5 separate regions of the Homo sapiens genome follow, and regions 2, 3, 4 and 5 are each linked to region 1. The links are contacts of gene promoters, found by promoter capture Hi-C in human tissues and cell types (Jung and others, 2019). All regions are on one chromosome and are shown on one strand. The core of a region is centred on a gene start or on the middle of the fragment in contact, and the rest is flanking DNA. Distances in the headings are between cores, read along the strand shown. Region 1 holds the start of SYN3 (synapsin III). Region 2 overlaps LINC02885 (long intergenic non-protein coding RNA 2885). Region 3 has its middle 270 kb from the start of LL22NC03-13G6.2. Region 4 has its middle 310 kb from the start of LL22NC03-13G6.2. Region 5 overlaps LINC02885 (long intergenic non-protein coding RNA 2885).

Region 1 (2,700 bases), core at 51-2,550:
CAGGGCTCCCGGGCAGAGGGGGCTCCCTTAAGCAGGGAAGAGTATTTGCAGCCAAGGACCAGAAAACAACTACAACTTACCAGCTTTCTGATGCTCCGGCCTCCATCCATTGTCCCCAGAGCTGCCAGAGGGACCTGATCACTGATCAGAATTCTTCCACGGCCCTCCTTCATTCCAGGATAAAATTCTAAATATTCTAAGGCTGCACTTTAAGGTCTGTGCAGGTTTTAGCTTCCTGCCATGTCGAGAGCTCATTTCCTACCTACAGCAAGACCCGGTCCTACTCCATTATCTGCTGTAGAATTATCTGATGTGCTAGGTCAGGACACCGGACCTTTTCAGTTTCTTTACCTTTACACAAGAAAACCCACCTGGAATTCCTGCTCCCTATCAACTCACAGTCCCAACACACTTTTCAGCCTGGCAAAACCTCCGACTTCCAGTCAATGCTCACCTCCTCTCTGAAACCTTCCTGGCTTCCTCACCGTCCTCTTCTCCATCTCGAGTCTTCCGCACTACCCTGCACTGCAATTGCTCCTCCTACTGTCCCTCTTAGCCCCAGAAGCTCCCCAAAGGCCATTCTTCATGCTGCTAGGGCTTGGCACAGTTCCTGGCACTCAGAAAAAGCCAAGTAAGTGCTGGATAGATACACGAGGTGCTGTATCCATAGCTATTCTCTGCTTCTAGCTTGGCCAGGAAACCACTCTGAAATTTCATCCTGCCCCCAGGATGACTGGAAATCGGAAATGGCATGACAAACCTGACCTCCCAAACCCAAGGCAACAGGTCATGAGGGGTCTGGGGACCTAAGGCAGGTCCTAGGAGCCGGCGCAGAGCAGAGGTCCGGCCGCTGCGGTTCCTGGTTTCCCGCAAGCTCTTCCCCGGGCCGGGCGCTGGGTGGAGGCAGTCTTAGGATCCACAGTCTTGCGCGCCCCCGGCTCCCGGGCCCGGCAGACGGCCCCCGCACGCCGATCTGTCTGTCCCAGGGACCGGCCCAGGGCCCCGGCAGCGGCAGCCTGGGGAGACACCGTGGTGCGCGGCTCCTTGCCTCCCTCCCTGCCCCTCCGTGCGCCCGCATCCCGCGGACACAGAGCCGGAGCTCCAGGGGACGCAGCCCGACGCGAGAACGCACCAGCAGCCCCCGCTCGAGGTGGGGTCTCCCGGCTGTCAGAAACCCCACAAAGTCTACTTTGCGGCGCCGCGCCGCTTACCGTGCGAGCCGCCAGGAACTCGGCGCCCGGTGGTGCCTCGGCGCGGCGCCCGCCAGTCGATCCGCTCCGGGTCCCGGGAGCTCAGCCTCTGCCCCTCAACGCGCGCGAGCGCCCCCGCCCGGCGGCCCGGCCTCCCCGCGCCGCGGCGCCCCATTGGCTCGGGCAACGAGGCCCCCGGACGGCCCCGCCCACCCGCGCCCACTCCCTCGCCCACGCCTCTCCCCAACGCCTTGCTGGGTTCACCTCTCCAGGCAGGGAAAGTTGCTTCTAGACTCTGAGCTCTCACCGGACTCAGGAGCCCAGTTAGCTAATAATTCTGGGTCCCAGGAGTGTCTAGACGCCCCTCGGGGAGTGCGAAGAATGCAGTGTCCTTGGAATCCACCTTTGGGAAAGTCAGCTGACCTCCCGGACCTCAGGTGGCACCTCAGAGAAACCAGGGCCCCTTGTCAGGAAATGTCCCAGGTTGTGGGCTAGGCCCTAGGGCCAGGATGCAACAGGGAACAAGACAAAGTCTATCGTCCTCGTGGACTTTGCATGGGGTGGAGGTGGGGGTAGGTTATATACAACAAACGAAAAAAACAAGAGAATGTCGGCTGGGTGCCTGTGGCTCACGCCTGTAATCCCAGCACTTTGGGAGGCCGAGGCAGGTGAATCACGAGGTCGGGAGTTCAAGACCAGCCTGGCCAAGATGATAAAACCCCGTCTCTACTAAAAATACAAAAATTAGCTGGGCATGGTGGCCCTCACCTGTAGTCCTAGCTACTCGGGAGGCTGAGGCAGAATTGCTTGGACCCGGGAGGTGGAAGTTACAGTAAGCCGAGTTAGAGCCACTGCACTCCAGCCTGGGCAACAGAGCTAGATGCCGTCTCCAAAAAAAAGAAAAGAAAAAGAAAGGGGTCTAGGACTGCTATACCTAGGGTGGTCTCCGGGCCGCTTGTGATATTGGATACTTGGAGGACAAAAACGATTCCAGGGCTGAAGCAAGAGCATTGCTGACAGAGGGGTCGGCCGATGCATGGTTCTGAAGCTGGAACTGGCCCCCAGGGTGGCTGAGTGAGGTGAGCAAGGGGAGAGTGGGTTACAGCCAGAGAGGTAGACTAGTGTGGAATCACCATCACCCAGAACCTTGTAGGCCACCGTGAGGGTCAGGGCTTTGTCATATCAATCTGGAGGGAACAATTCAGGCAAGAGATTATGGTGATGAAGACCAGGGTGGTGACAGCAAGATACGGAAAAGGTGGACCTCCTGCAATGTGTGTCAAAAGTAGCACAGGAAGGCTTGATGATGGATTAGGCTGGATTTAGGGGATGCTATGGTTTAAATATGTTCCCCAAAGTTCATATCTTGGAAACTTAATCCCCAATGCAACAGTGTTGAGAGGTGGGACCTTTAAGAGGTGATTCCATTAATGCCAGGAGTGGCCCTCTCCCCACCCCTCTGCTGCTCTCTTGTTCTGCCTTGTGCCATGGGGTGACTCAGCATGAAGGC
Region 2 (2,700 bases), core at 158-2,657, 1.9 Mb after region 1:
ATCCCAGTTACTCGGGGGGCTGAAGCAGGAGAATTGCTTGAACTCGGGAGGCGGAGGTTGCAGTGAGCCGATATCGTGACACCACACTCCAGCCTGGGTGACAACAGTGAAACTGCATCTCAAAAAAAAAATAATTCATAATTTCTTTCTAAAATCATCAAAGATGACCTCAAAAATCCTTCTTCGTCATTTACACTTTAACATAAATGATTTTTGTCACATCTTCTCCTGGGATCACTTTGTAAGATCGGGGGAGAGGGTTGGAGTTGGGGGAAGGTCCTGAATACTTGGGTAAGAGATGAGACCACACCTCTGCAAGTTCAATGGGCAAGTTCAAAGGCCTCCTGAACTCCTGTAGATCTTACATGCACAGCACCCAAAGTGGAAATGATTGCACTGACTGAATAGCACCCATGTTCCAGGCCTCATACTAAGCACATGTCATACCTCATTTTATTTGACCTCAAGAACACCATGTGAGTGCAGTCCTGTTATCCCCTTCCAAGTGATGCAACTGCTCTGATAGACAGCAAATAATTTGCTGATGGTCTCACAACTTCTAAGTGATAGAGGTAGTATTTAGTCCAAGGTTGATTCAAAAATTGGTGCTCTATTCACAATAGCAAAGACATGGAATCAACCTAGGTGCTCATCAATGGTGGACTAGATAAAGAAAATGTGGTACATATACACCATGGAATACTGTACAGCCATAAAAAAGAATGAGCTCATGTCCTTTGCAGCAACATGGATGCAGATTGAGGCCATTATCCTAATTGAATGAATGCAGACACAGAAAACCAAATGCCACATGTTCTCACTTAGAAGTGGGAGCTAAATATTGTGTACACATGGATATAAAGACAAGAACAATAGACACTACAGACTCCAAATGGAGGAGGGCTGAAGCGGGCAAGGGTTGAAAAACTACCTACTGGTTACTATGCTCACTATTTGGGTGATGGGTTCAATTCAAGCCCAAACCTCAGCATCACACAATATATCCATGTAGCAAATCTGCACATGTACCCTCTGAATCTAAATTTTATTTCTAGCAGTACTTTTCCCACTCTGCCACCCTGGGAGAAAGACTGACGAGGTACAATGAGCACTACAAGGTGTCCCAGGCACAAGGTCCCTGACCTGGCTCCGCCCCTCACCAGGTGAGGACCTTAGGTCAGTGACTTTCCTTTTGTGTGCCTCAGTTTTCTCATCTTCGAAAGGAATAGTAATGAGGTTCCTAACCTCATTATGCTTCTGTAGGGACACAGAAAGTAAGGTGCTGGCAACTGTTCTTGTTACAGTACTAACAATCATGGCAGGCCTCCTGGAGGAGTGGAAAGCAGTGCACTATGGACTGAACTGTGTCCTCCCCTCCCCCAAATCCATATGTTGCAGCCCTAACCCCCAATGAGGCTGTATTTGGAGATGGGGCTTTTAGGGGGTAATTAAGGTTGAATGAGGTGATAAGAGTGGGGTTTGGATCCAATAGGACTGGTGTCCTTATAAGAAGAGACACCTGGGCCAGGCACAGTGGCTCATGCCTGTAATCCCAGCACTTTGGGAGGCCAAGACAGGTGGATCACCTAAGGTCAGGAGTTCAAGACCAGCCTGACCAACATAGTGAAAACCCATCTCTACAAAACTACAAAAATTAGCCGGGCATGATGGCATTTGCCTGTAATCCCAGCTACTCGGGAGGCTGAGGCAGGATAGTGACTGGAACTGGGAGGTGGAGGTTGCAGTGAGCCGAGATCACACCATTGCACTCCAGCCTGGGCGACACAGTGAGACTTCGACTCAAAAAATAAAAAGAAGAGACACCAGAGAGCTCACTCATCCTCCTCTCTCTGCATGCTCTGAGGAAGAGCCATGTGAGGCCAAAGCGGCCATCTACAAACTAGGAAGAGGGCCCTCGCCAGGAAACAAATCAGCTGGCACCTTAATCTTAGACCTTCTTGCCTCCAAGAATTAAGAGAAAATTAATTTCTGTTATTTAAGCCACCCAGTCTATAGTGTCTTGTTATGGCAGGCCCAGCGGCTAATACACAGTTCCAAGCTGCGCTTCCTCTCTCATTGCCCAGACTTTCCAGACAGGACTTTCTGCCTCCTGCTCTCTGAGGGCCCTCCCCCTCTAAACATGCAAATGTACTCACTCAGTTCCCAGGAAATGCGAAGCAGACAGCCCTGGAATTCAAAACAGCCTGCAGACTGCAGCCTCTTATTTTAATGATTCTAATTTATCTCCAGAATTATCAATAATAAATCAAACTAAGTGGAACTAAAACAACTTTCCCTGTGGCTGTGTCATGTTCTGTTGGAAAAGACGACCCCTTCAAAAGGCTGTGTTGATCACCAGCTCCTCCATCTGCCCAGCGAGCAGGTTCCCTGAAAAGGTGCTCAGTGACTTTCCTCCATGGAGAAAGACGTTTTCCATTTGTGCCTAACCAGCCATGCACAGTTTCAGGAGCACCACATATAACCCTCATTTAATTTAAGCTTATGGGTTAGGAATGAGTATGACCTCATTATACTAACGGGAAAACTGAGGCACAGAGGGGTTCAGTGAACCTTTCAAAGTCACAGAGCGGGGATACTAACCCAGCCCTCCCTAGCCCCAGTCCCACGTTCCCTCCCATGAAAAAGTTGCCTCTGAGCTGCAGATATCAGCTTGGTACCCTGGAAAAGGCTCAGGCTTTG
Region 3 (2,700 bases), core at 53-2,552, 1.4 Mb after region 1:
AAATTTGTAGGGGGTTTTATAGCTCATATATTTCTAAACTCATGCCTCCCAACACCCTGGTGAGGCAGGCCTAGCAAATACTGACGGATACACCAGTCAAATGACAGAAGTCTGTACAACTTGATGTAGCTTTTCTCCAGGAAGCCCCCTTTGCTCTAATCTTCACCAAAGTCTTCTAAAGTCATAAATGCTTGGTGTATAGATTCTTTGTGGTAGAACCTCAAGAATGGTGACTGTTCTACTTGCTGTTGATGGGTGGATAGATAAGAAAATCAGGGGCCAAGGGGCACAACAGACAAGAAGAACGTAACTCTTAACCTGCCTATACCACCTTCAATACTGGCAGGAACTGGGGACTCCCATGGGTGATGGGATTAGAAGTCATCAAGGCAAAATTAACTTAGATCTCAACAGCTATGGAGGGGCCTCACTGAGGCCTGTATTTCATAAAGAATTTGTTCTTAATTAAACAACAAAAATAATAAACAGTGTTGAAAAATTCACTTTTCTGAAACATTAGATTAGTTTTAATGTAATGTCTATGATAATATAGCTTTCACTCCTTTTCAGTCTAACATGCTTTCTCAAAGTGGGTGAGAGACAGGTGAGAGGCTGTAGTCTGTAAAATTTCACAGAATGCCCAGCCTGTTTTATCTATGCTGCCCCCAAGAGAGGATGCTGGATTTGGGAGTCTTTATACCAGCAGTGTCCGATAGAAATATAATGTGAGCTATACATGTAAATTTTCTAGTAGTCACAATAAAATACTGATATGGTTTGGCTGTGTCCCCACCCAAATCTCATCTTGAATTGTAGTTCCCATCATCCCCACGTGTCAAGGGAGGGACCCAGTGGCAAGTAATTGAAACATGGGGGCGGTTACCCCCATGTTGTTCTTGTGAGAGTGAGTGAGTTCTCATGAGATCTGATGGTTTTATAAGGGGCTTTTCCCCCTTTGCTCGGCACTTCTTCCTGTCACCCTGTGAAAAAGATGCCTTGCTTCCCCTTCACCTTCCACCATGATTGTAAGTTTCCTGAGGCCTCATCAGTCATATTGAACTGTGAGTCAATTAAACCTCTTTTCTTTATGAATTACCCAGTCTCAGGCAGGTCTTCATAGCGGTATGAAAATGGACTAATACAAATACAAACAGGTGAAGTTAATTTTAATAATAATGTTATTTAACCAGATATATTCAAAATATCACTTCAACATGGAATCAATATAAAATATTAATGAAATATCTTGTATTCTTTTATCACATTAAGCCCTCAAAATCAGGTTTATGTTTCAATTCAGCTACATTTCAGGTGCTCATTAGCTACATGTGGCTGGTGTCTGCTGAACTGAGATCATAGCTCTGAGAGCTGCCTCTGTAAGAAGCAGCCAGGATGAGGTGGTATGAAGCTTTGCATTGGGCTCTATAGTGTCCCTGGGTAGTGAGTCTAATCTCTGACCTCTCCTACTTTTCCCTCATGAGGGCATTTTCCTTGTCCACAGAAATGGGTCAGATATCATCCAATGCCTTCCTGACCAGGCTTCACAGGAGACCTGCTGGTTGGAGGAGAAGTTTGGAAGATACCAGATGTGTACTCCACCTGTCATCTGCCAAACCTGCAGGTAGCCTGAGGGCATTTTTTCAGCACTGCTTCTCTCATCTGCACACTCACCTCTGTACATGATCACTCATAGTCTCTGAGACGCTTCCGCTCCCTCTTCCTCCTTCCTCCACTCATTCCTACTTTGAGCGGATGCAAGAGAAAGGAAGGCACTTGTTATTTCAAATGGGGCTTGACGCAGGCTCACAAAGAGCATAAAACCAAACCATTTTCACAGGCAATCAGACCCAGGCAGTTAAAACAAACTGAGAACTCCATTACAGCCCATTACTGTCTGATCCAGGGCTCCCCCGTCTACACATCCCTTGGCTCCTAGAAAAAGGAGTGGGAAAGGGCAAAGGGAACCCTTTCTGTAGCCAGCTAATAGGCTGAGATCACGGAAAAGGCCTTCACTTCTCCCATCAATCCAAGTGGGAAAGGCAAGTGAACAATTCTCCTGTGATTTAAATAGATGAAAAGTAAATGATAGTGTTGACAAAGCCCTAAGCAAAGATCCTTTTGGCATTTGATTAGTAGCATGGACCAAAAATGTAGTGTGTGTGTGAGTGTTTATGTGCGTGCACATGTGTGCATTTGCAGACATGTGTGGTCTCTTCCTCATAACGACATAATATATACATATGTCACATTTAATGGTACCGGCAGTCAGGATGAAATAAGGTTCCAATTTCACATGGGCATTCTGAATATGTCAAATTGGAGCCTCTTCTGCAAAATGAGAATAATAATGCCATCAACCACACAGGGATGTTATAAAGACCAAACATAGTAAGATTTGCATAGTTACTTTCTGATTATCTGTCTTTGTTTGTATCTGTCTATCTATCTATCTATCTATCTATCTATCTATCAATGGAGGAGCGTGGTAAGAACCATACAGGCCTGGTTAATTGAATCACACAAAGACTCCCCCAGGTCCATTTGGAGACATGAGCATGTTCTAAACCATTGTTCCATGTTCCAAATGCATAGAAATTACAGATGAAATCTTTTACATAATAATAAGAACATGGTTCTCTTCAAAGCATTAAAAAAAGAGACCATGGGGGAATCTAGAGTGTTAATCCTGAAACTGAAGTA
Region 4 (2,700 bases), core at 119-2,618, 1.5 Mb after region 1:
CTGGGGATGGGGTAGCTGTTTCTTTGAGCAGTGCACCTGGTTGTGTGCTGTGCATGGAAGGAGACATGGCCAGATATATAATTATATACTGATTCGTGGAACTTGTAGCCAATGGTTTGGCTGGACAATCAGGGACTTGGAGGAACCATGATTGGAAAATTGGTGACAAAGAAATTTGGGGAAGAGGTATGTGGACAGACCTCTCTGAGTGGTCAAAAACTGTGAAGATATTTGTATCCCATGTGAGTACTCACCAAAAGGTGACCTCAGCAGAGGAGAATTTAAAAAATCAAGTGGATAGGCAGTGCACAGTGGCTCACGCCTGTAATCCCAGCACTTTGGGAGTCCAAGGCAGGTGGATCACCAGGTCAGGAGTTTGAGACCAGCCTGGCCAACATGGTGAAACCCTGTCTTTACTAAAAATACAAAAAATGAGCCGGGCATGGTGTCAGGTGCCTGTAATCCCGGCTACTCAGGAGGCTGAGGCAGGAGAATCACTTGAACCCAGGAGGCAGAGGTTGCATTGAGCCAAGATCACACCACTGCACTCCAGCCTGGGCAACAGAGCGAGACTCAGTCTCAACAATAACAACCAACAACAACGTCGTCAACAACAACAACACAAAATCAAGTGGATAGGATGACTTATTCTGTGGACACCACTCAGCCTCTTTCCCCAGCCACCTCCATCATTGCCCAGTGGGCCCATGAACAAAGTGGCCATGGTGGCAGGGATGGTGGTTATGCGTGGGTTGAGCAACATCGACTTCCACTCACCAAGGCTGACCTGGCTAGTGCCACTGCTGAATGCCCAATTTGCCAGCAGCAAAGACCAACACTGAGCCCCCAATATGACACCATTCCTCTGGGTGATAAGCTAGCTACTTGGTGGCAGGTTGATTATATTGGACCTCTTCCATCATGGAAAGGGCAGAGGTTTGTCCTCACTGGAATAGTCCAGATATGTGTTTGCCTGTCCTGCATGCAATGCTTCTGCCAAGACTACCATCCATGGACTTATGGAATGCCTTATGTACCATCATGGTATTCCACACAGCATTGCCTTTGACCAAGGCACTCACTTTATGGCTAAAGATGTGTGTCAGTGGGCTCATGAATTCATGCTTATGGAATTCACTCGTCTTACCATGTACCCCATCACCCCTAGTGATCCACTAGCAAAATTTTTGCTCCCTGTTCCTGTGACATAATGTTCTGCTGGCCTAGAGGTCTTAGTTCCAGAGGAGGAACACTGCCACAAGGAAACATACAACTATTCCATTAGAGTGGAAGTTAAGATTGCCACCCGGACACTTCGGGCTTCTCCTACCCTTAAGTCAACAGGCTAAGAAGGGAGTTACAGTGTTGGCTGGGGTGATTGACCCAGACTATCAAGATGAAATCAGTCTACTGCTCCACAGTGGAAATAAGGAACAGTATGTGTGCAATACAGGAAATCTCTTGGGGCATCTCTTAATCTTACCATGCCCTGTAATTAAGGTCAATGGGAAACTACAGGAGCCCAATCCAGGAAGGACTACAAATGGCCCAGACCCTTCAGGAATGAAGGTTTGGGTCACTCCACCGGGAAAAAAACCATGACCTGCTGAGGTGCTTGCTGAAGGCAAAGGGAATACAAAATGGGTAGTAGAAGAAGGTAGTCATCAATACCAGCTATGACTATGTGACCACTTGCAGAAACGAGGACTGTAATTGTCAAGAGCATTTCCTTCTTCTTTTGTTAAAAACATGTTTGTGTATGTATACACTTGTACTAAGAAAATTCCTTCATTTTATTTCCTTTTTCCTTTGTCATGTGACATAAGATTTATTGACTTTATGTCAGCATTTAAGTGTTGTTAACTTTAATACCATTTGGGTTGGGAATTGATGCATTTCTGGTTGTACAAAGGGTAGTTGTATTATGTTAGGTGTAATTATGACCTTATTATTGTCTTTATTTGAAGATTATGTATGATCTCAGGAGATGTATATGGGTTCAAATTGACAAGGGGTGAACTTGTGTTGGTTAATACTGAGTGTCAACTTGATTGGATTGAAGGATGCAAAGTATTGATCCTGGCTGTGTCTGTGAGGGTGTTGCCAAAGGAGATTAACATATGAGTCAGTGGGCTGGGAAAGGCAGACCCACTGTTAATCTGGGTGGGCACAATCTAATTAGCTGCCAGCATGGCTAGGATAAAAGCAGGCAGAAGAACATGAAAATACTAGACTGGCTTAGCCTCCCAGCCTACATCTTTCTCCCATGCTGGATGCTTCCTGCCCTTGAACGTCGGACTTTAAGTTCTTCAGCTTTGGGACTTAGACTGGCTTCCTTACTCTTCAGGTTGCAGATGGCCTATTTTGGAACCTTGTGATTGTGTGAGTTTAATACTCCTTAGTAAACTCCTCTACATATATAACCTATTAGTTCTGTCCCTCTGGAGAACCCTAATACACCATCATTTACAATAAAGACCGCCTGAGTGATGAAAAATTAAATGCCTGAGGATCAGTAGGAATTTATATTCTAGAAGAATTCAAATGCTTGCCTAAAATAATTAAATTCCAAAAAGACAATTTCAAGTATCATGGGGAGAATATTTTAAAGATTCTGGTGGGGGACACCTGGGCCCAGTAATCTCACCACTTATGAGAAGGAGAAGTAAGACCCTGGAGTCATAAGCCCTCAAGGTTATG
Region 5 (2,700 bases), core at 154-2,653, 1.9 Mb after region 1:
GTATCAAAACATCTCATGTACCCCAAAAATATATACACCTACTATATACCCACAAAAATTATAAATTAAATCCCTGGCACAGACTAAATATTCAACAAATGGTCACCATTATGGCCTTAGAGTCAATGGATGCCCTTTGGCCTATTTACCATCTCATTATTTCGTATGTGCAGTTTTCATCCTTGTTTTGTCTTTTGATTCAGCCAGCTACCTCAGTGTAGGTAGCTGGCTTCCTACACATTTCCTACACTTCTTAGGACCTTGAGTCCGTAGAGAAAACCTCTAGAGATGTGCTATCCGGTATGGTAGTTGCTAGCCTCATGTGGCTATTTAATTATAAATTTAAATTAATGAAAATAAAATAAAATTAGAAACTGAGCTCCTCAATTGCACTAGCCACGTTTAAAGCTCTCAGTAATCTCATGTGGCCAGTAGCCACTGTATTGGATAGCACAGATAGAGAGAGCATTTTCCCCATCATGGAAAGTTCTATTAGACAGCACTGGGCTAAAAAGGATTATATAGAACTATGAGCCATTTTCCAGTATTTCCAAAGGCCTAATGAAAACTCTATATTTACTCTCAACGAGACTGCCCAGGTTAGCTAAAACACCCAGGGGACTACTTTCGGCTGGAACTATAACAGGCTGTGCTGTCATATCTTCCATGGCCAATGATCAAATAGGTGGGCTGGGAACAAGCCAGGGCCCTAGGCCCTGCATCTGGACCTGGAGAGCTGGCTGTGCAGCAGGCACAGCAGCTAGCGGGCAGTGGGCAGGACCTCTGGCTGCAATCCCGGCCCCTAGTATCTTTGTGGTAGAAAGTGTGGAGGAGTCAGGAGCTATAAAGCCCAAGTATGGCAAAGCCAAAGAGGTAGGAAGGAGATATGGTGACTGGGGACCAACCAGGTGTCAAGGACATGGGAGGGAAGGCAGCACTGGACCCAAGCAGAAGCTGGAACTTGTGAGTGTGAAGACGACTGTGGAAGAGCAGCTCAGCTTCCTGACCCTGTGTATACTGCACAGTCTCCTAAAGGTAGCGGGCAATAGATCTAGATATTACTTGTCAACAAAAATGCTCCTCTAAGAAGTTGTGTTTTTGACTCATAAAAGCGGAAGAACAAGTTAAATATTACTTTATACATGCAGTTTACTTGTTGGATGTGACCAGTCCATGAGATCTAGTCTCCTTTTTTTCTTGCTAAGAGAATCCCAGCTTTGTCTAGCCTGTAGTCACATGCCTAGTTAAAAATACTTCCCAAACTCCTCTGCAACTAGGAGTGGCCATGGGACCCAGTTCTAGACAATAAGATTTAAGAGTAGAGCTTCTGAGAGAGCTATAATTTTCCTCATATAAAAAGACCAACTTAACTGGATCACTCCTTTTTTTTTCTTGGCTTTTTTCCCAATGTTTTCTGCCTGAAATTCACATGTGAAGTTTGACTGTGCAGCAGACATCTTGAGGTTGAAAGCCACATCCTAACAAAGTCAGGGTGGTGGATGGAACATGGGTTTTTTTGTTTTGTTTTGTTTTGTTTTCTTTTCTTTTGAGATGGAGTTTCGCTCTTGTTGCCCAGGCTGAAGTGCAGTGGTGCGATCTCGGCTCACTGCAACTTCCACCTCCCGGATTTGAGCGATTCCCCTGCCTCAGTCTCCCAAGTAGCTGGGATTACAGGCGCCTGCCATCACGCCCAGCTAATCTTTTGTATTTTTAGTAGAGATGGGGTTTTACCATGTTGGCCAGGCTGGTCTTGAACTCCTGACCTCAGGTGATCCACCCGCCTCGGCCTCCTGAAGTACTGGGATTACAGGCATGAGCCACCGCACCCGGCCCAGAATATGGGTTCTTAAAGACTTTGTACGTACTCTAAACCACCAACTCTGGACTCCTTATTGCATGAAAAAGGCAAACCCCCGTTTGTTGAGGCCACAGAAATAATGGTTCTTTACATGCTATCATAAACAATGGGCAAAATATACCAAAATGTGTACTTTGTGGAGGAAACACTAGTAAAAGGAGCCTTTGACAAGGAACAGATACTGTTTTCCCCTGCTTTGTGAGGTCAGAGAACAGATTCTGAAATCAGGCTGCAGGGTTTGAATACTGGTTCTTCAGGAGCCACTGTCCTATACCAAGTTTTGGTGCAAATCAAATAAGGCAACTCCTCTAGACAGATAAAAGTCCAGTGGGCCCACAGCTTGGTGAAAAGGTCATATCTTTTAATGAATTTGATAAAGGATTTGTTCCTCCCAACAAACTCAGCCTCATACTAGCATCCATGACTTGTTAACCAGATTGGTGGCCGGATTTCAGACTCCTGGGCCAGGCATCATTGAGCTGTGAAAAACATGCACAGACATACACGGTGGCCATGGGGTCCACCACCTCCCACTTGTGAAGCCTGGGCCAAATGAATGGATTTCCCTTTGCCTCAATTTCCTTATCTAGAAGATGAAGCTAATAATAACATGCTATCTTTACATGCTATCATATACAGTGGGCAAAATATATCAAAATATGCACCTTGTGGAGGGAACGCTTGTGAAAAGAGACTTTGGGCTCAGCACAATGGCTTAAGCCTGTAATCCTAGCACTTTGGGAGGCCGAGGAGGGGGCATCACAAGGTCAGGAGTTCAAGACCAGCCTGGCCAACTTGGTGAAACCCTGTCTCTATTAAAAATACAAAAATTAGCGGGGTGT

The links. The method cuts DNA at HindIII sites, captures the fragments that hold promoters and counts their contacts. A contact is called where the count stands out against the background at its distance.
Region 2: a fragment that was not itself captured here is called in contact with the fragment with the promoter of SYN3 in region 1 in 1 of the 25 tissues and cell types used here (lymphoblastoid cells).
Region 3: a fragment that was not itself captured here is called in contact with the fragment with the promoter of SYN3 in region 1 in 1 of the 25 tissues and cell types used here (lymphoblastoid cells).
Region 4: a contact is called between a fragment that was not itself captured here and the fragment with the promoter of SYN3 in region 1, in 1 of the 25 tissues and cell types used here (lymphoblastoid cells).
Region 5: a fragment that was not itself captured here is called in contact with the fragment with the promoter of SYN3 in region 1 in 1 of the 25 tissues and cell types used here (lymphoblastoid cells).

What each region holds. Positions count from the first base shown.
Region 1 is chr22:33,057,081-33,059,780 of GRCh38, forward strand. It overlaps SYN3 (synapsin III), which reads right to left and starts at 1,301. Exons shown (of 14, transcript NM_003490.4): 1 at 1,212-1,301. The HindIII fragment of the contact is 13,516 bases long and covers 1-2,700 here.
Region 2 is chr22:34,948,538-34,951,237 of GRCh38, forward strand. All of the region lies in intron 1 of LINC02885 (long intergenic non-protein coding RNA 2885), which reads right to left. All of the region lies in intron 1 of LOC105373015 (a long non-coding RNA gene), which reads right to left. Among named protein-coding and RNA genes, the nearest start is that of LINC02885, 48 kb to the right of the region's middle. RefSeq lists enhancers at 1,307-1,808, 1,809-2,308. The HindIII fragment of the contact is 4,068 bases long and covers 1-2,700 here.
Region 3 is chr22:34,477,363-34,480,062 of GRCh38, forward strand. No RefSeq gene overlaps it. Among named protein-coding and RNA genes, the nearest start is that of LL22NC03-13G6.2, 270 kb to the left of the region's middle. The HindIII fragment of the contact is 5,381 bases long and covers 1-2,700 here.
Region 4 is chr22:34,519,414-34,522,113 of GRCh38, forward strand. No RefSeq gene overlaps it. Among named protein-coding and RNA genes, the nearest start is that of LL22NC03-13G6.2, 310 kb to the left of the region's middle. The HindIII fragment of the contact is 4,840 bases long and covers 1-2,700 here.
Region 5 is chr22:34,927,821-34,930,520 of GRCh38, forward strand. All of the region lies in intron 1 of LINC02885 (long intergenic non-protein coding RNA 2885), which reads right to left. Among named protein-coding and RNA genes, the nearest start is that of LINC02885, 69 kb to the right of the region's middle. The HindIII fragment of the contact is 6,649 bases long and covers 1-2,700 here.